Linked DNA regions of Homo sapiens: region 2 is linked to region 1. The links are contacts of gene promoters, found by promoter capture Hi-C in blood cells and fetal thymus (Javierre and others, 2016). All regions are on one chromosome and are shown on one strand. The core of a region is centred on a gene start or on the middle of the fragment in contact, and the rest is flanking DNA. Distances in the headings are between cores, read along the strand shown. Region 1 holds the start of VSIG8 (V-set and immunoglobulin domain containing 8). Region 2 holds the start of LOC101928264 (a long non-coding RNA gene).

Region 1 (2,700 bases), core at 164-2,663:
CCCTGCTCTTCAAAGGGAGCAGGACAATCCCATAAACCTAAAAATAAATAAGGAAATAAAGATATTCATTGTGTACATCTGGTAGGTCTCAGAGCGCCCTGTTATTGTTGGGAGTTCAGGTGCAACGGCTTGGAATGCAGAGACGCGTGGACTCCTTGTGTTTCCTTAATGTTCTGACTTATTTTTCCCCAGAGGGGTGGGCCCTGGCAGCATCCCTGAGCCCCATAACTCTCCCTAACACTCTTCCTCCTCTGCCCTTTCTGTGCCCCATGGTAGGGATGGGGGCAGTCCCTGACTCCTTTGAGGGAGTTGAGCTATTGAATGGGGTCACTCATGTCCTGACTCCCACCATGGAGTCCAACAAGGCACATGCCCATTCTGTCCCCCTTAGACAAGCCAACAAGGGGTGGCCCTTCACTTGCTCCCCATGCCTACCAGGACCCTCCCCACCCCAGCACGAACTTACCCAGAACTGTGCTGGTTTAGTCAGCCCGATGACCAGTCCAGGTTATGAGGGTCCTTGGTCTCAAGGACCCAGTTAATACTGGGACTGCATTAACCCTCAAGACCTGGCTACTCTTTCTGGGCAGAGAAGCCAGGACACCAAGCGATCCCTCAAGAAGTTCACTCAGAGGGGCTTAGCCATCCTCACAGAGACACCCTGACACAGACATCCTGCCTCCCTCCCACAGACATTGCTGAGGGGTGCACACGCTTACACAGGCACCCCCTTCCCTGGTCCTCTTGGCGCTGTTCTCTCCAACACTCCCTCACTAGCCCATCAGTCACCTTACTCCTAGCACACACCCTGGACCCCCCATAGCACCCCTGCTCCCAGGGGTCCCCTACACTTGGGGATGGCCTTGAGTCGAGTATGGGTGTGGAGGACAGTTCCAGAGGGGACAGCCAGGAGGAGACTCTGTTCCTGCACACACCCCTTCTCTCCTCTTTCAGCTCAGGAGGCCTGAGTCCCTTTGAAAGGCCTGAAGCCTGGGGGAAGGTGGGCTGGACACTCCTGGGGAACCCTATGCCCTGGGATCAGGATTAACTCTTCAGGTCCTGGCCACTCTTTCTCCCAAGCCTGGCTTCTCCTTCCTCTTCCCCACTTCCCCCAGGGAAGGAGGCAGCAAATGAGTGGTGAGGGGAGCCCTTGGAAGCTGTAAATGAGGTGACTGTTGTCACCCTGAGGATGTGGCCAGGAGGAAGTGAAGTTTAACAGGTGCCTAATTACAAGTCCCGCTGGCTGTCCTGTGCCACTCTTAGGACAGGGAAGAGCTTGGGTGAGGGCTGGGTAATGCCCAGGTAGGCCACCCTGTCACCCTGCTAATTAGGGTTCCTGGGACTCCTCCCCAAGGCGGGGACCAGGCCCCCTCCCTCCCATAGAAATAACTCCAGCTGCTCCCCAGCTGGGCACTCATTGCACCTTCCTGCCACCCCAGGCAGTGTCTGGGCCCTCAGCTCCCCCTCCCTCCACCTACCCCCTCACACCCACCACTACGACCCCACGGGATACCCAGCCCAGACGGAGGAAACACCGAGCCTAGAGACATGAGAGTTGGAGGAGCATTCCACCTTCTACTCGTGTGCCTGAGCCCAGGTACGGGGCTGGGCAGGGGGCAGGGTAGCCAGCATGAGGCTAGGTGGGAAGGAAAGGGGCAGCAAGGGCTCACAGTGGAGCCTGGGGCTGCCTGAGTTGCCTGGCAGGGTGCTGCCCACCCTTGCCCTGCTGCAGCCGGGTGTGGGTATTACCAGGGGACCTTTCCCCAGGAGACCCTGTGCCTGATGTTCAGGGTGTGTGTCTGTAGTGCAGAGGTCTTTGAGTGGATCTTTATATGTCCCCTGTCGGGCTCACACATGTGTGCAGGTGCCCTGCAAGCTCATGCCGTGACTAGGAGGAGAGGGATTGATTGCTCTGCAGGAGCTGGAGGTGGGGTAGGAGAGGGGTAAGCACGGGCATTGGGTGAGGGCTCAGGAGGAGCTTGGGAAGGATCAATTTTCATCAGACTGTGTGCTATTCCCAACGCTACTCCTTCTCTCCCAAGGCCAGGGCCAAGGGGCAGGGAAGTCACTTGCCTTGAAAGGGCAAGAGACTAAGTCTGGTGTAAGTCTGAGTGGTTTCTTCCATCATGGCCAGTGACAGCTCAGGCCTGAGACCTCAGCCTTGGGCCCCCTGTGCTATGACAGGGCAGTGCCCCACTCTAGGATGAGGCCTGAGGGTGGTGGGGATGGCAACTCCAGAGACTTCTCACCCCACCAGGACAGGTCCACAGGGCAGGGCTCAAGTTTGGACATTGTGGCTTCCTGCCCAGGTTGGGGCAAGTTCCACCAAGGGGCATTCTATGCCAACATCACTGGAAAGGGCTCCGAGTCCCTCTTGCAGTCTGGATTTGGGATGAAGGGGCATGAAGGAGGAATTTGGGAAGGCGGGGTGACATTTTCAGCCTTTGTGTGAGCGTGAATGTGTATGTGAGTGTGTGGGTGCGTGCACCTGCATGGGAATGATGACATTTCCGGCAGGATAGCTGCAGCCCTTCTCTGTCTGATGAGAGCAGGGCTGGCAGAGTCCACTCGGGAGGCTCCAGCTGTGCTGTGGGGACCCGGACTTCCCCCTGTGTGGTGTGTCAATGGGTGTGTGAGGACAACTCAGCACTGGCTGCATTAACGCATCAATACCCTCAGCTGGAGCCGCCTTTTCTCCCC
Region 2 (2,700 bases), core at 120-2,619, 84 kb after region 1:
AATAATGTGCTTCTAGCGATGCAGACTAACTGTAATTATGAAAATAGTTAACCCTTATTGAATTTGTTTATGTACCAGGCCCTGTGCCAAGCGCTTTCTGGAAGAACCACATGTGAAAGGTATTTTTGTATCTTTTTTTGTACATGAATCATTGGAAGCTTAAAGAAGTTGGTTAACTTGGCCAAGGACACAGTGATCCAAGCCCAGGGCACTTGGCCATGAGGATGTATTATATTTCCTTCCCTTTGCACCCACCTATGACACACGTCTGACCATTTAAGCCTTTGGCTTCAGCAAGATGGAAAGCAATTTGTCTTCTCCTAAAGATCAAAGCCTGCTCTGACCCTGTGGGAAATACACTTACCATTTACCCAGACAATTACTTTCCCCAGGTTCCAGGAGGTGCCAAATCTCCCCTTTTTCTCCTTCCAGACAATCACAGCCCTCATTAAGCCCTTCCTGTTTGCACTCTCATTTCCTACATAAATTCCTATCAAGGTTACCAGCCCTCCCCAGTTTATTCCTTTCTCTCTTTCCCAGCCATGGCCTCTCAGCCACCAGTCACCTCTTCCCCCAACCCCCTGACCTCCCACTTCTCTTCTCAATTCAACTGCTCTTCAGGATTTCTGGTTGCACTACCTCTGGAGACAAGACTCTAGCATTTGTTCTTGTAAGTTAATCTTTTCTTAGTCCCTTTGCCTTGTTCTCCTTTCTTTGCTTCCCCTACTCACCAGGGAAGTTTCCACTTCACTCCCTACCCTCCTATGTGCTCCTTCTTTGCCTCCTTGATATCCAGCTCGAAGCCCATATTCTCCAGAAAGAGAAAATTTTTTTGGGAGACCGAGATCTTCCTCTTCCCTGAGTCCCCTACCAATGATTCTCTCCCTCTTGTGGGTTTCTGCAGGGCTAGCAGTGCATCCATCAAACCATTAGGGCCTCCATGTGGAGAGGCCAGTTGGCTCCCTTTTTAGGAAGCTCTGCCCTTCCCTTCCAGCAGACCCAGAGTGGAAAGGGCCCAGGGTCCCTGCCTTAAGCTTTGTCAAGGGTGCCATATGTCAAGGGTGCCATATGATGTTTTGTCTTGGGCCCAAGGGGCCTCAAACTGTAAGGAAAAACCCTCTCTGATGGTTTCCTGGCTCAGACTTCTGCAATTAACAGGACTTCTGCAACTAACCACCTTCTTGTCTGCCCACATACATGATACTGACCTTCTTTTATTCTCTCCTCTGTACAGAGTTACCTGACCCTCAGGAAGATTTAGGCTTTTTTTTTTTCTCCCATCTCACCTTGTATAAATATGTCTTCTCAGTATAGTAATGTCATTGGATTGAGGATACTTGTTTGCAGAGGAGGCAAGAATGCGTTGTTCCGTTTTTGAATTCCACACATCTAATATGGAGCCTGAGCCACAGGGCTCAAAATGTTAAGTAAACAAATGAATGGGAAATTAATAAGAAGAATGCATTGGCAAGACCGTGAAGGTACATTTCTAGGAGTGAATGTGAGTCTGTCGGACCATGTGGCAATGTGTATTTGTAATTCTTTTTAAATGCACAAGTTTGAGGACTGTGTTGAGTATTGGGTAGTATCTCTTTGAAGTGTATTTTTTACTTGACTGTGCTTTTAAATAAAGAATGGCTGTGTCAGTATGATCTTGGCTATGTCTAATTACTATTTTTGTGAAATGGGACAAATAAAGCTTGTTCTTTATAGAGCACTGCTCTTGTAGTGTGCATGTGTGTGATGGCTTGTGTATTTGAGTGCTTTGGAGGGGCCGTGTTCCTGGAGAACAATCTATTGACACTGATGGTGGGCTGAGTAGTAAGCTTAAGAAATTTCCCTGACTTCAAGGAATTTACAACATCCTTGCGGGGGATTTAGACTCTGATGTAATTATTCTCAGGACATATAATAAAGTACTAAATTGCTCATCAAAGACAATCAGATAATACATATTAAAAAGCTAATTGTGCAGTAAAAACAAGTGCAAAAGAAGTCAGTGGGGGAAAGATAAGCTTGAATTGGAACTACCAGAAATGTCTTATGAAGAGAGGGATTTTTCTTTCCATTTTGTCTACTGTCCAATGAAAAGCTCAGCAGACCCAGCAATCCCATTACTGGGTATATACCCAAAGGAATACAAGTCATTCTTTTATAAAGATACATGCACCATATGCTTATTGCAGCACATTCGCAATAGCAAAGACATGGAATCAACCTAAATGTCCATCAGTGATAAAGAAAATGTGGTACATATACACCATGGAATATGATACAGCCATAAAAAGCAATGAGATCATTCCCTTGCAGGGACATGGATGGAACTGGAAGCCATTATTCTCAGCAAACTAACACAGGAACAGAAAACCAAACACTGCATATTCTTACTTACAAGTGGGAGCTGAATGATGAGAACACATGGACACATGGGGATGGGGAACAACAAATGCTGGGGCCTGTCTGGGGTGGGGACTTGGGGAGGGAGAACATCAGGAAGAATAGCTAATGGATGCTGGGCTTAAAACCTAGGTGATGGGATGATCTGTGCAGCAAACCACCATGGCACACTTTTACGTATGTAACAAACCTGCACATTCTTCACATGTACCCCTGAACTTAAAAGTAAAAAATAAGGCTTAACAGAACATTTTTTAGGGCATCTCAGCTTCCCTTTTTCCAGCTGATAAGAATGTTTTGACT

Evidence for each region. The method cuts DNA at HindIII sites, captures the fragments that hold promoters and counts their contacts. A CHiCAGO score of 5 or more calls a contact.
Region 2: a fragment that was not itself captured here is called in contact with the fragment with the promoter of VSIG8 in region 1 in 2 of 17 cell types (naive CD4 T cells and total CD8 T cells); the score reaches 5.8 in naive CD4 T cells.

What each region holds. Positions count from the first base shown.
Region 1 is chr1:159,861,370-159,864,069 of GRCh38, reverse strand. It overlaps VSIG8 (V-set and immunoglobulin domain containing 8), which reads left to right and starts at 1,413. Exons shown (of 7, transcript NM_001013661.1): 1 at 1,413-1,597. The coding sequence starts at 1,549. LOC107985216 (a long non-coding RNA gene) reads right to left here. Exons shown (of 2, transcript XR_001738263.2): 2 at 1-2,700. RefSeq lists enhancers at 1,085-1,997, 1,998-2,700. The HindIII fragment of the contact is 16,901 bases long and covers 1-2,700 here.
Region 2 is chr1:159,777,196-159,779,895 of GRCh38, reverse strand. LOC101928264 (a long non-coding RNA gene) reads left to right here and starts at 515. Exons shown (of 3, transcript XR_922193.3): 1 at 515-670; 2 at 1,235-1,481. The HindIII fragment of the contact is 665 bases long and covers 1,037-1,701 here.